3 separate regions of the Homo sapiens genome follow, and all the other regions are linked to region 3. The links are contacts of gene promoters, found by promoter capture Hi-C in blood cells and fetal thymus (Javierre and others, 2016). All regions are on one chromosome and are shown on one strand. The core of a region is centred on a gene start or on the middle of the fragment in contact, and the rest is flanking DNA. Distances in the headings are between cores, read along the strand shown. Region 1 overlaps DARS1 (aspartyl-tRNA synthetase 1). Region 2 overlaps DARS1 (aspartyl-tRNA synthetase 1). Region 3 holds the start of CXCR4 (C-X-C motif chemokine receptor 4).

Region 1 (4,588 bases), core at 409-2,908, 140 kb after region 3:
CATGTTAATGAGCATGACAGTTACTTACTTGCCTTCCATCGTAGTTTTTTGTGGGTCTTATTTCCTGTTGTCAGCTCTTGGAAGGTGCTACTGCTTATTTTCTTGCTTTGTTTGGTACACAACACATAATAAGAACCCTACCGAATAATAGATGAATAAAACAGGTGTTTTATACACATATAATAGAGCATTGTCTTCTGGGTCTTGTTCTTGCTGTCCAGTAGCTCACTCTAATTGAGATCAGCATGTAAGTATGAAGCATCACGTAAGTGAAAAAATATACAGGTTGAGTATCCCTTATCCAGAATGCTTGGGACTGGAAGTGTTTTGGATTTTGGATTTTTTTTTTTTTTTTTTTTGGAATATTTGCATTACTGGCTGAGCATCCCAAATCTGAAATCCAAAATGCTCCAATGAGCATGTTTTTTGAGAGTCATGTCGGCACTCAAAAAGTTTTTGGATTTTGAAACATTGCACATTTTCGGATTTGAGAATGTTCTTCCTGTACCATCTGCTAGTGTTTTTTTTTCCATTTGTGACAAATTATTTTAGTCTCTTAATTGATAGTGCCTCCTGCCTCAAAACATGAAACAAATTGCAAGGTGTAAGGACTTTATTGATGATATGAGCTAATCATGGTGGGTGGATAGGGAGAATTTATGAGTGTCAATGTTATGAACAGACTGAACGGTTTAAAACTTTCTTAAGAGTTTTTAATTGAGGAATTTCATAGCACTTTTTATTAGTATATTAACTGTTATTCTATCTCAAAAAAATAAATTATTTATGGGTATTGGGGAATTTTGGAGGGGCTAAATGCTAATTGCACTATTTTAAAACTCAAACAGCACAAAAACTAAAGAATAAAGCAGAAAGTGTAATTCACTTGTTCTGCTCCCAAGAGAATAAAAACACTGTGAAAGTTTGAAATGATAGAAATTGCTTTAAACAAAAATTGATACTTTTTCTTTTACAAAAGTGAGTTCATATGCTGTATCAGTGTTTTATGTAGCTCTACATGATCATTTACAATATTTTTAATTTGCAAAATTGAAAAATTTATTCTAGATTATAAAAGTAATAACCATTTTTTGTTAAATACTCAAGCATTATAGAATTAAATCAGGTATAAAGTGGAAAACTGACTGTAATCCTTCTTTACAGATTTGTGGGTTTTTTTGGTTGGTTTGTTTGAGGTGGAGTCTTGCCCTGTCACTCAGGCTGGAGTGCAGTGAGGCAATCTCAGCTCATTGCAACCTCTGCCTCCTGGGTTGAAGCAATTCTCGTGCCTCAGCCTCCCAAGTAGCTGGGATTACAGGTACCTGCCACCACATCCAGCTAATTTTTGTATTTCTAGTAGAGATGAGGGCTTTTTTTTTTTTTTTTTTGAGTCAGGGTCTTGCCCTGTCACACAGGCTGGAGTGCAGTGGTGTGGTCTCGGTTCACTGCAGCCTCCTTAGCTAGGACTACAGGCATGCGCCACCATGCCCAGCTGATTTTTGTATTTTTAGTAGAGACAAGGGTCTCACCATGTTGGCCAGGGTGGTCTCAAACTCCTGACCTCAGGTGATCTGCCTACCTCGACCTCCCAAAGTGCTGGGATTACAGGCTTCAGCCACTGTACCCAGCCTCAGATTTGTTTTTATGAGGAAGTTGAGGGTCAATGTGAGTGTATATGTGTGTTTGAGCTAAAATTTTTATAATACTCTGTATTATTTTATAACTTGCACTTTTCTTTATCTTTTGGATATCTTTTCATGTCTGTGCGTATAGGTTTTTTTTGTTTGTTTGTTTTTTGAGACAGAGTCTCGCTCTGTCGCCCAGGCTGGAGTGCAGTGGCACAGTCTCCGCTCACTGCAAACTCCGCCTCCCAGGTTCACATCATTCTCCTGCCTCAGCCTCCCAAGTAGCTGGGACTACAGACACCTGCCACCACGCCCGGCTAATTTTTTTGTATTTTTAGTAGAGACGGGGTTTCACTATGTTAGCCAGAATGGTCTCGATCTCCTGACCTTGTGATCCACCCACCTCAGCCTCCCAAAGTGCTGGGATTACAGGCGTGAGCCACTATGCCCGGCCGCATCATTGTTTTTTAATGGTTTCATAGTATTTCATAGTATGGCTATATTTTTTTACATATATTTTATTTTTCTCATTTGTATAAAGTTCAGATTTATCCATTGTTGCTTTAATTTGTGTTTCAGTCATTGGTTAGATTAAACTTCTTTTCCTGATATGTTAACTATTTTGAACTTCTTTTATATATTGTTTGTTCTTGCCCTGTTCCTATTTTATTAAAAAAGAACAAATAATTTTCTCCAAGTCTGTTTGCATTTCAGTTTTTTGAGGCGAAGAGAGGCATTACAAATGATGATCATTATGTCCTTTTCTTTCAAATGTTTGTATCTCATTTCTTGTTTCTCTTTGCAATACTAGTAGGTTCTCTAGTACTTCAGGGATTCACACAATGAAGAATTTTTGAAAGAGCAGAAATTCCAGTTCTAAATGAATGATTTTGAGTTTAAGGTTCTACATAAAATGTCATTAGAAAATAAATGGCAAAGTTTTAAAAAGTAGATTAAAAGTAGTTTCCCAGCCAAGTTTTCTGTTTGTCAGGAGGAGATGTTGAATTTTATCAGACCTTTTTCTAGCATTTCTTCCCTTCAAAATATAATTGTGTTATGTGATGTATATGTAGAGAGGTTCATTATACTATTCACTCTGCTTTTGTGTTTGTTGGAAATTTTCTGTGTAATAAAATAAATTTTAACGTAGTTGATCCTCATTATTCGTGGACTGCATATTCGCAAATTCACCTACTGGCTAAAATGTATTTATAACCCCAGAACACTTGCAGCACTTTTGTGGTCATTCTCAGTCATGCCAGACCTGTACATGTGCAGAGTGGCAGAGTATTTGCGTCATCCAGTACACACATTCCCAATTAAAGTCAAACACAGTAATGTTCTGCCTTCTTGTTTCAGCTCTCATACTGTAAATAAGCGTCCCTTTCACAGTCTCTTTAATGCCACATTTATGCCTTTTAAAAAAGGACTTTTAAAAACTTTTGTGTGGGTACATAGTAGGTGTATATATTTTTGGGGTACATAATAGGTGTATATATTTATGAGGTACTTGAAATATTTTGAAACAGGCATGCAGTGTGTAATAATCACATCATAGAAGATTGGGTATGCATCCCCTCAAGCATTTATTCTTTGTGTTACATACAATCCAGTTATATTCTTTTAATTATTTTTATTTTTTAAATTTTATTTATTTTTTGAGACAAGTATGGCCCAGGCTGGCGTGCAGCCGTGTGATCTCAACTCACTGCACCTGTGGCTCCTAGGCTCAAGCCATCCTCCCACAGCCTCCTGAGTAGCTGGGACTACAGGCACATGTCACCACGCCCAGCTAATTTTTATTTTTTATTTTTTCATTTTTTTTGTAAAGATGGGGTTTTGCCATGTTGCCCAGGCTGGTCTGAAACTCATGAGCTCAAGCTATCTATCCACCTCAGCCTCCCAAAGTGCTTGGATTACAGGTGTGAGCCACCACGACACCCAGTCATTCTTTTAGTTATTTTTAAATGTACAATTATTATTGGCTGTAGTCCCCCTGTTCTGCTATCAAATACTAGGTCTTACTCATTCTTTTTTTTTTTGGTACCCATTAATTTTCCCAGGGCCCCCCACCTTCAACCCCTATTACCCTTCCCAGCCTCTGTTAACTATCTTTCTATTCTCTATATCCATGAGTTCAATTGTTTTGATTTTAAGATCCCACAAGTAAGTGAGAATATGCGATGTTTGTCTTTCTGTGCCTGGCTTATTTCACTTAAAATGACCTCCAGTTCCATCTATGTTGTTGCAGATGATAGGATCTCATTCTTTTTTATGGCTGGATAGTACTCCATTGTGTATATGTAGCACATTTTCTTTATCCATTCATCTGTTGATGGATACTTAGGTTGCTTCCAAATATTGGCTGTTGTGAATGCTGCTGCAGTAAACATGAGAGTGCAGATATCTCTTCGATACACTGATTTCCTTTCTTTTGGGTATATACCCAACAGTGGGATTGCTGGATCATGTGGTAACTCTATTTTTAGTTTTTTGAGGAACCTCCAAACTGTTCTACATAGTGATTGTACTAATTTACATTCCCACCAGCAGTGTACCAGGGTTCCCCTTCCTCCACATCCTCACCAGCATTTGTTATTTGACTTTTTGATATAAGCCTTTTTAACTGAAAGGAGATGATACCTCATTGTAGTTTTGATTTGCATTCCTCTGAAGATCAGTGATGATGAGCACTTTTTCATATGCCTTTTTGCCATTTGTATGTCTTCTTTTGAGAAATGTCTATTTAAATCTTTTGCCCATTTTAAAATTGTATTAGATTTTTTTCCTGTAGAGTTGCTTGAGCTCCTTATGTATTCTGGTTAGTAATTCCTCGTCAGATGGGTAGTTTGTAAATACTTTGTCCCATTCTGTGGGTTGTCTCTTCACTTTGTTGATTGTTACCTTTACTGTGCAGAAGCTTTTTAACTTGATGTGATCCCATTTGTCCATTTCTACTTCAG
Region 2 (5,041 bases), core at 2,525-5,024, 160 kb after region 3:
GGTGATGAGAGCTGTTTTACTTGGTAGTGGTGATGTGGCTAATTTTGTTTCATGTTTTTTTTCAATTTCATCAGAATTTTATTTCCATGATAATGATCTCAGAAAACATGAGAAAATGGATGGTCTTTGTGTTTTAAGTAATAAAGTAATTTCATAGTGTGTAAGTGTTTTTTAAAAGAAAGAATTCAATCAGAGTAAATGATATATTTTTTCTATTGATTTTTTTAAATGTTTGCTTTTTAGATGCATGCTTTCTAAGAATGAGTTAATACAGATGGAATTATGAATTTTAGAATTGGAAAGAAACTTAAAAATTATCTAATTCAATATCGTAATTTAGCTTTCAGCCCTCCCTGACCCTCTAGCACAATGTTATACATATAAAGGATGCTCAGCAGCTGGTTTTGGTTTAGATATTTATCAAATTACGTCATAGTAATACCTGCACTCGGATTTAAGAACTTAAGTGCCATGAATTGTATCGATTCATTGATGAGATCAGTAGTATTTTAATACTACTAATACAGTAGCCCCACCTCTCCCTATCTCCCAGTGCTGCCCAGAGATGACCACTTTTCTTCTACGTGTGTCTTCTGGTAATTAGGTTTGCTTGTTTCGTCTCCTGGTTAGAGTGTGTGCTTGTGGGGTGCATTTGTCTTCCAACCTTTTAAGGTTAGTGTGTATCCTATGAAGTCAAACATAAATGAGCTTGGTCCCTAGAAATTTTATCTGCACAGAGAACCTTCTATAAAAGAAAAAAAGATGGTCCTGGAAACCGCAGACATAGATGCTAAATTCTATTAAATATACTGAAAAATACTGGAAAAAAGTCAACCTCAAATCAACAAACAACTTTTGTATAATAATTTGGTTTTGAAAACTAATACATGAAGCCGACAGTTACATAGAGAATATATTTTTCCATTAAACTGCATTATAACCTCGGCGTTACATTCCTAAAGCTTCCAGTGGAAAAGCCTTTTGAAAATCCCAGTTACCCATAATATTCAGTGAGAGGCATTCTACTGACAAGTGGACGGTTAATCCATGTGATGTGTTTAGAAGCAGACACGTTAAAGTACTCCGCAAATAAGTTATTCCTATTATTTTGGATCTTCTCAGAAACTCCTGGGACTTGACTAAATAACAGCGATTGACTATATCAGATGTCAACCATAGCTTAATAGCTAAAAGAGCTACTTTCAAATGGTCTCCCAAACAGAACTTAGTTCACTAATGCCCTCATAAAATTAAAGAACATCTTTTTATCATTATTTTATTAAAGGCTTTCATCCAAATGGGATGATATACGGGCGATCTTTTTTTTTTTTTTTTTTTTTTTTTTTTTTTTTTTTTTTTTGAGACGGAGTTTCACTCTTGTTGCCCAGGCTGGAGTGCAATGGCGTGGTCTCCGCTCATCGCAACCTCCTACCCGGTTCAAGCAATTCTCCTGCCTCAGCCTCCCCAGTAGCTGGGATTACAGGCATATGCCACCACCATGCCCAGCTACTTTTGTATTTTTAGTAGAGACGAGGTTTCTCCATGTTGGTCAGGCTGGTCTTGAACTCCCAACCTCAGGTGATCCGCCCGCCTCAGCTGTTCAAAGTGCTGGGATTACAGGCATGAGCCACCGCAGCCGGCCATGGGTGATCTTTCTTTTAGACAAGGGAAGAATATAGGTAATTTAGCCTAGATTTTTTAATTCCTGAAGTGGAACTCCATAAGGATCTAGATGCAGTTCAGGCTTAACTAAATTGTGACTTGATTTTTTTTTTTTTAAGCAAAGGACATGCAGCTATTTTTAGTCCCTTTAAAAAATGGACTTTATATAAAGTAGCAATGTGTAGGAAAAGGTTGAGCTGTTCCAAATTATAAACCTTGTCACTGGTTATATGTAAGTGAATGGAGCCAATTTTATACAATAGGTTCAACATGTGGTACATAGATAACTATTATTAAACTTTTGGCACTAGCATGTTAAGGAATCGAGCCTGAATAATTACCAGTAGGTGGGTTAATGGCTTTTGCTATCTTGCGAAAAAGGAAAATTCTTATGGCTAAGACTCGTTGGCAAAAAATGATGAGTTTTTAGGTTTTGTAGTTGGTTAAGATAATTTTCTTAGGAACATGATTTTATGTTCCAGATGGGTCAGTCAGTTTGTCCTTTCTGTGTGATGTAACCTATACTTCTAAGATAGTTCAGAAATCCTGATCCTTCTTGGTAGGAGAAGTCTACTTTTAGACTTCGGCAAGAACTTTTTAGAACTTTTTTAGGGAAAAGATATATGGGGTTTTTCTTTGTCTTTTAAAATCCTTTTCCTAAAAATTGTTAACTGTGTTTTAGCGCATAAAATGGGTATGCGCTAAAATTGTGAAAGCAAAAATTAAGGTAGCTTTCATACATTTATCTTTGAGGTCACTTGTTTAGGCAGCAGATCACTAGTAGTATAACAGTTGGATGCAAGGAAAAATGTTTCTATTTCTAGTTCCAGTTAAGTTCAGATACTTGATAATTCATTTGATACAAATTTTAACTAACAATGCCACATTAACTTTCACATAAGTAAGACAGTTTTATAAAATGATTGACTGATACTTTATTTAAATTGTCATTCTTAGATTACTCTTTGCAGAATTTTGGTTAATTGTGAAGCTGAAATATCCTGACTCTACCTCAAAGTTAATGTTTTAGGTAACTGAACAGGTATTCTTCCCATTACTAGTATTGAAGTCAGAATACAGAAACAAATTAATTATGGAACTGGCTCTAAGGCTACAAGCTTTATAGAGTAAACCAAATGTCAGCAATTTAGTTTTAGTGAAATTAAAAATTAATATTACTTATTAATTTGAATTTTGTTTTTATTTAAAAATTTATTTCTATTTTAAAGTTAAGGGCTATAAGCATAAGCATTTACAGTAGTTTGGTATTTGTAGGTCTTTAAGTAACATGACAGAACTTATTTAAGTGATTAATGGGGTTTGCTGACATTTTTTATTCCACTAAAGAGAACCTATAGAGTAGTTTTAGAACTGCTGGTCTGTGCCTTGTTGAGTAGTGCATACTTCTCACCACGCTTATTTTGGATCAGCTGGGCATGGTGGCTCATGCCTGTAATCCCAGCAATTTGGGAGGCCAAAATGGGCCGTTCACTTGAACCCAGAAGTTTGAGACCAGCCTGGCCAACATGGCGAAACCCCATCTCTACCAAAAAAATTTTTTTTAAATTAGTCGGCCGAGCGTGGTGGCTCATACCTGTAATCCCAGTACTTTGGGAGGCCGAGGCGGGCAGATCACGAGGTCAGGAGATCAAGACCATCCTGGCTAACACCCGTCTCTACTAAAAATACAAAAAATTAGCCAGGCATGGTGGCGGGCACATGTAGTCCCAGCTACTCGGGAGGCTGAGGCAGGAGAATCGGTTGAACCCAGGAGGCGAAGGTTGCAGTGAGCCAAGATTGTGCCACTGCACTCCAGCCTGGGCGACAGAGCGAGACTCCGTCTCAAAAAAAAAAAAAATTAGTAGGATATGGCTGCATGCACCTGTAGTCGCATCTACTCTGGAGGCTGAGGTGGGAGAATCACCTGAGCCCAGGAGATCCAGGCTGCAGTGAGCTGTGATTGTGCCACCGCAGTCCAGCTTGGGCAACAGAGCAAGACTCTGGCTTAAAAAATAAGTTATCACAGGCCGGGCGCGGTTGGTCACACCTGTAATCCCAGCACTATGGAAGGCCAAGGTGGGTGTATCATCTGAGGTCAGGAGTTCAAGACCAACCTGGCCAACATGGTGAAACCCCGTCTCTACTAAAAATAAAAAAAAATAGCCAGGTGTGGTGGTAGGCGCCTCTAATCCCAGCTACTCGGGAAGCTGAGGCAGGAGAATTGCTGGAATCTGGGGGATGGAGGTTGCAGTGAGCCGAGATCACACCATTGCATTCCAGACTGGGCGACAGAGTAGGACTCCATCTCAAAAAAAATAAATAAATAAGTTATCATGGTTTAAAGAATGATTTAAATCTTTAATTTTTGCAAAGCATCAGTGGACAGATGGGTGTAATAGAGGTAGAGAGAACGCAAGGATTTAGTTCCCTACTGACTAGTGACAAAGAGTCCCTCATTGACCAAACTCTCCTCAGATTCCTTTGAAAGAACTTTCTGCTCCGGTAAGCCTCGACTTTTTTACTTCATGTTTATGCCTGCATTGTTCAGTTTTAGTAAGAATCCTGCTGAGTTGCTTTAACTATAACCCCTGTCATCCCCCCTCAGTATCTGATCACCCGCCATAGCTAATTGGGTTCCTTCTCCTCCACCATCCCTCAGGTGATGTCTGATCACCCTCGCCTGCCTTCAACAAGAATCCTGTTAGGTCATTTTAGCCAGAATCTTCTGTTTCTCCTGATGGCTCCTCTTAGTAATTTTCCATCCACTGACTCTATATTCCCATCTTTGGGTCTAAGTTTCCACTTGCCAATCGTGTATTCAAAGTTAAGCCTAGTTCTATACTCAGATCTCTTTTCCCCTATTGCAATAATCTTGAATAAAATTTGTTTTTACCACTTTAAGTATTGTCCATCTCTGGTTTTCCCTGACACAACCATGTGACTTCTTACATTGTTTACTGTTTGCTTATCTTAACTCATTCTTCAAAGCTAAGATGCTGATTCAAACACTTATTTCTACTTGCGTGAGAAATATAAAAGTCTGAGGTCTAGTGTGGTACTAATTCACTATAATTGAAAGAAGTGCTTGACCTATAAATGAAGCTTATGCTTACCTTAGAATTGAAACATATGGCTGGGCGTGGTGGCTCACACTTATAATCCCAGCACTTTGGGAAGCCAAAGCAGGCAGATCACTTGAGCCCAGAAGTTCAAAACCAGCCTGGGCAATATGGTGAAACATCATCTCTACCAAAAAAGTCAGAATAATTAGCCAGGCATGGTGGTGTGAGCCTGTAGTCCCCAGCTACCTGGGAGGCGAAGGTTGCAGTGAGCTGAGATTGTGCCACAGCACTCCAGCTTGTGTGACAGAGCGAGACCC
Region 3 (4,620 bases), core at 182-2,681:
CCGAACTACCTCTGGAACACTCCAGACTGAAATGTTTCCTCTTTTGATATAGAAAAGAGGGATCGTGTGTAGAGTGCAGTCTGGGCAATCCCTCTCCTCGGGACCATTTCGGGGTGGGGGCCTCTGGGGTCCGTGTCGCGACGCACGCGCCTCGGTCCCAGCTATCTCCGCAGCGGCCACCCCGCCTGCGGACGCAGTTTCTCGGCCCCGCCCCACACTCGCTCCCCCGCCCCACCCAGTCTCCGCGCCGGAGGGAAGTGGCGCGAGGGGGAAAGCACTGTCTGCGCGCCCACTGCAAACCTCAGCCAGTCTGAGATCGCTTTAAACGTCTGACCCCCACCCCCACTCCGCCCCGCCCAGTTCTTCAACCTAATTTCTGATTCGTGCCAAAGCTTGTCCTCTGCTCAAAATCGTGGAAGACGCCGAGTATGGGGACCGAAGACCTGGGTTCAAGCCCGGCTTGGAATCCCTGCCCATCCCTGGCATTTCATCTCTCCGGGCTTATTTGCTGGTTTCTCCGAATGCGGGCCTTGTCTGGTTCACGCTGGATCCCCAACGCCTAGAACAGTGCGTGGCACGCAGTTCGTCCTTCTATAAATATCGGACTAAATGCATCTCTGTGATGGTAATACCCACACGGTGTTGTGAGAATGAATGAGTGATTCTGTGCAAGTTCCTAGTGATCTGTTACAAAAAGTACTGGTCGCTAAATTACTCTTATAATAAAGCATACTTTTAGGATAATAAAGCACTATTCGCGAATTGGTTACCGCTATTATGAAATTACTGAGCAATACATATCTACATCTGATCAGTCTCCAGAATTATGCCAAATCCTACCTTCTTCTGAAAGTATCTCCTAATTATCTGCACCTGACCCTAGTGATGCTGTGAATGTGCAAGTATAGCTACATCCTCCGAAGGAAGGATCTTTACTCCTTTTACCTCCTGAATGGGCTGCGTCTGCTGAAAGCGCGGGGAATGGCGTTGGAAGCTTGGCCCTACTTCCAGCATTGCCGCCTACTGGTTGGGTTACTCCAGCAAGTCACTCCCCTTCCCTGGGCCTCAGTGTCTCTACTGTAGCATTCCCAGGTCTGGAATTCCATCCACTTTAGCAAGGATGGACGCGCCACAGAGAGACGCGTTCCTAGCCCGCGCTTCCCACCTGTCTTCAGGCGCATCCCGCTTCCCTCAAACTTAGGAAATGCCTCTGGGAGGTCCTGTCCGGCTCCGGACTCACTACCGACCACCCGCAAACAGCAGGGTCCCCTGGGCTTCCCAAGCCGCGCACCTCTCCGCCCCGCCCCTGCGCCCTCCTTCCTCGCGTCTGCCCCTCTCCCCCACCCCGCCTTCTCCCTCCCCGCCCCAGCGGCGCATGCGCCGCGCTCGGAGCGTGTTTTTATAAAAGTCCGGCCGCGGCCAGAAACTTCAGTTTGTTGGCTGCGGCAGCAGGTAGCAAAGTGACGCCGAGGGCCTGAGTGCTCCAGTAGCCACCGCATCTGGAGAACCAGCGGTTACCATGGAGGGGATCAGTGTAAGTCCAGTTTCAACCTGCTTTGTCATAAATGTACAAACGTTTGAACTTAGAGCGCAGCCCCTCTCCGAGCGGGCAGAAGCGGCCAGGACATTGGAGGTACCCGTACTCCAAAAAAGGGTCACCGAAAGGAGTTTTCTTGACCATGCCTATATAGTGCGGGTGGGTGGGGGGGGAGCAGGATTGGAATCTTTTTCTCTGTGAGTCGAGGAGAAACGACTGGAAAGAGCGTTCCAGTGGCTGCATGTGTCTCCCCCTTGAGTCCCGCCGCGCGCGGCGGCTTGCACGCTGTTTGCAAACGTAAGAACATTCTGTGCACAAGTGCAGAGAAGGCGTGCGCGCTGCCTCGGGACTCAGACCACCGGTCTCTTCCTTGGGGAAGCGGGGATGTCTTGGAGCGAGTTACATTGTCTGAATTTAGAGGCGGAGGGCGGCGTGCCTGGGCTGAGTTCCCAGGAGGAGATTGCGCCCGCTTTAACTTCGGGGTTAAGCGCCTGGTGACTGTTCTTGACACTGGGTGCGTGTTTGTTAAACTCTGTGCGGCCGACGGAGCTGTGCCAGTCTCCCAGCACAGTAGGCAGAGGGCGGGAGAGGCGGGTGGACCCACCGCGCCGATCCTCTGAGGGGATCGAGTGGTGGCAGCAGCTAGGAGTTGATCCGCCCGCGCGCTTTGGGTTTGAGGGGGAAAACCTTCCCGCCGTCCGAAGCGCGCCTCTTCCCCACGGCCGCGAGTGGGTCCTGCAGTTCGAGAGTTTGGGGTCGTGCAGAGGTCAGCGGAGTGGTTTGACCTCCCCTTTGACACCGCGCAGCTGCCAGCCCTGAGATTTGCGCTCCGGGGATAGGAGCGGGTACGGGGTGAGGGGCGGGGGCGGTTAAGACCGCACCTGGGCTGCCAGGTCGCCGCCGCGAAGACTGGCAGGTGCAAGTGGGGAAACCGTTTGGCTCTCTCCGAGTCCAGTTGTGATGTTTAACCGTCGGTGGTTTCCAGAAACCTTTTGAAACCCTCTTGCTAGGGAGTTTTTGGTTTCCTGCAGCGGCGCGCAATTCAAAGACGCTCGCGGCGGAGCCGCCCAGTCGCTCCCCAGCACCCTGTGGGACAGAGCCTGGCGTGTCGCCCAGCGGAGCCCCTGCAGCGCTGCTTGCGGGCGGTTGGCGTGGGTGTAGTGGGCAGCCGCGGCGGCCCGGGGCTGGACGACCCGGCCCCCCGCGTGCCCACCGCCTGGAGGCTTCCAGCTGCCCACCTCCGGCCGGGTTAACTGGATCAGTGGCGGGGTAATGGGAAGCCACCCGGGAGAGTGAGGAAATGAAACTTGGGGCGAGGACCACGGGTGCAGACCCCGTTACCTTCTCCACCCAGGAAAATGCCCCGCTCCCTAACGTCCCAAACGCGCCAAGTGATAAACACGAGGATGGCAAGAGACCCACACACCGGAGGAGCGCCCGCTTGGGGGAGGAGGTGCCGTTTGTTCATTTTCTGACACTCCCGCCCAATATACCCCAAGCACCGAAGGGCCTTCGTTTTAAGACCGCATTCTCTTTACCCACTACAAGTTGCTTGAAGCCCAGAATGGTTTGTATTTAGGCAGGCGTGGGAAAATTAAGTTTTTGCGCTTTAGGAGAATGAGTCTTTGCAACGCCCCCGCCCTCCCCCCGTGATCCTCCCTTCTCCCCTCTTCCCTCCCTGGGCGAAAAACTTCTTACAAAAAGTTAATCACTGCCCCTCCTAGCAGCACCCACCCCACCCCCCACGCCGCCTGGGAGTGGCCTCTTTGTGTGTATTTTTTTTTTCCTCCTAAGGAAGGTTTTTTTTCTTCCCTCTAGTGGGCGGGGCAGAGGAGTTAGCCAAGATGTGACTTTGAAACCCTCAGCGTCTCAGTGCCCTTTTGTTCTAAACAAAGAATTTTGTAATTGGTTCTACCAAAGAAGGATATAATGAAGTCACTATGGGAAAAGATGGGGAGGAGAGTTGTAGGATTCTACATTAATTCTCTTGTGCCCTTAGCCCACTACTTCAGAATTTCCTGAAGAAAGCAAGCCTGAATTGGTTTTTTAAATTGCTTTAAAAATTTTTTTTAACTGGGTTAATGCTTGCTGAATTGGAAGTGAATGTCCATTCCTTTGCCTCTTTTGCAGATATACACTTCAGATAACTACACCGAGGAAATGGGCTCAGGGGACTATGACTCCATGAAGGAACCCTGTTTCCGTGAAGAAAATGCTAATTTCAATAAAATCTTCCTGCCCACCATCTACTCCATCATCTTCTTAACTGGCATTGTGGGCAATGGATTGGTCATCCTGGTCATGGGTTACCAGAAGAAACTGAGAAGCATGACGGACAAGTACAGGCTGCACCTGTCAGTGGCCGACCTCCTCTTTGTCATCACGCTTCCCTTCTGGGCAGTTGATGCCGTGGCAAACTGGTACTTTGGGAACTTCCTATGCAAGGCAGTCCATGTCATCTACACAGTCAACCTCTACAGCAGTGTCCTCATCCTGGCCTTCATCAGTCTGGACCGCTACCTGGCCATCGTCCACGCCACCAACAGTCAGAGGCCAAGGAAGCTGTTGGCTGAAAAGGTGGTCTATGTTGGCGTCTGGATCCCTGCCCTCCTGCTGACTATTCCCGACTTCATCTTTGCCAACGTCAGTGAGGCAGATGACAGATATATCTGTGACCGCTTCTACCCCAATGACTTGTGGGTGGTTGTGTTCCAGTTTCAGCACATCATGGTTGGCCTTATCCTGCCTGGTATTGTCATCCTGTCCTGCTATTGCATTATCATCTCCAAGCTGTCACACTCCAAGGGCCACCAGAAGCGCAAGGCCCTCAAGACCACAGTCATCCTCATCCTGGCTTTCTTCGCCTGTTGGCTGCCTTACTACATTGGGATCAGCATCGACTCCTTCATCCTCCTGGAAATCATCAAGCAAGGGTGTGAGTTTGAGAACACTGTGCACAAGTGGATTTCCATCACCGAGGCCCTAGCTTTCTTCCACTGTTGTCTGAACCCCATCCTCTATGCTTTCCTTGGAGCCAAATTTAAAACCTCTGCCCAGCACGCACTCACCTCTGTGAGCAGAGG

Evidence for each region. Contacts are between HindIII fragments. The CHiCAGO score rates a contact against its expected background, and 5 or more counts as called.
Region 1: a contact is called between a fragment that was not itself captured here and the fragment with the promoter of CXCR4 in region 3, in 8 of 17 cell types (monocytes, activated CD4 T cells, non-activated CD4 T cells and 5 more). The highest score is 9.9, in monocytes.
Region 2: a fragment that was not itself captured here is called in contact with the fragment with the promoter of CXCR4 in region 3 in 14 of 17 cell types (activated CD4 T cells, non-activated CD4 T cells, monocytes and 11 more); the score reaches 25.4 in activated CD4 T cells.

The regions. Positions count from the first base shown.
Region 1 is chr2:135,972,554-135,977,141 of GRCh38, reverse strand. All of the region lies in intron 3 of DARS1 (aspartyl-tRNA synthetase 1), which reads left to right. Among named protein-coding and RNA genes, the nearest start is that of DARS1-AS1, 10 kb to the left of the region's middle. The HindIII fragment of the contact is 5,778 bases long and covers 1-4,547 here.
Region 2 is chr2:135,955,711-135,960,751 of GRCh38, reverse strand. The region is part of intron 4 of DARS1 (aspartyl-tRNA synthetase 1); the gene reads left to right. Among named protein-coding and RNA genes, the nearest start is that of DARS1-AS1, 27 kb to the left of the region's middle. RefSeq lists a silencer at 1-27. The HindIII fragment of the contact is 1,984 bases long and covers 2,783-4,766 here.
Region 3 is chr2:136,114,960-136,119,579 of GRCh38, reverse strand. CXCR4 (C-X-C motif chemokine receptor 4) reads left to right here and starts at 1,431. Exons shown (of 2, transcript NM_003467.3): 1 at 1,431-1,534; 2 at 3,668-4,620. The coding sequence starts at 1,520. RefSeq lists an enhancer at 2,440-2,509 and a silencer at 2,640-2,809. The HindIII fragment of the contact is 7,141 bases long and covers 997-4,620 here.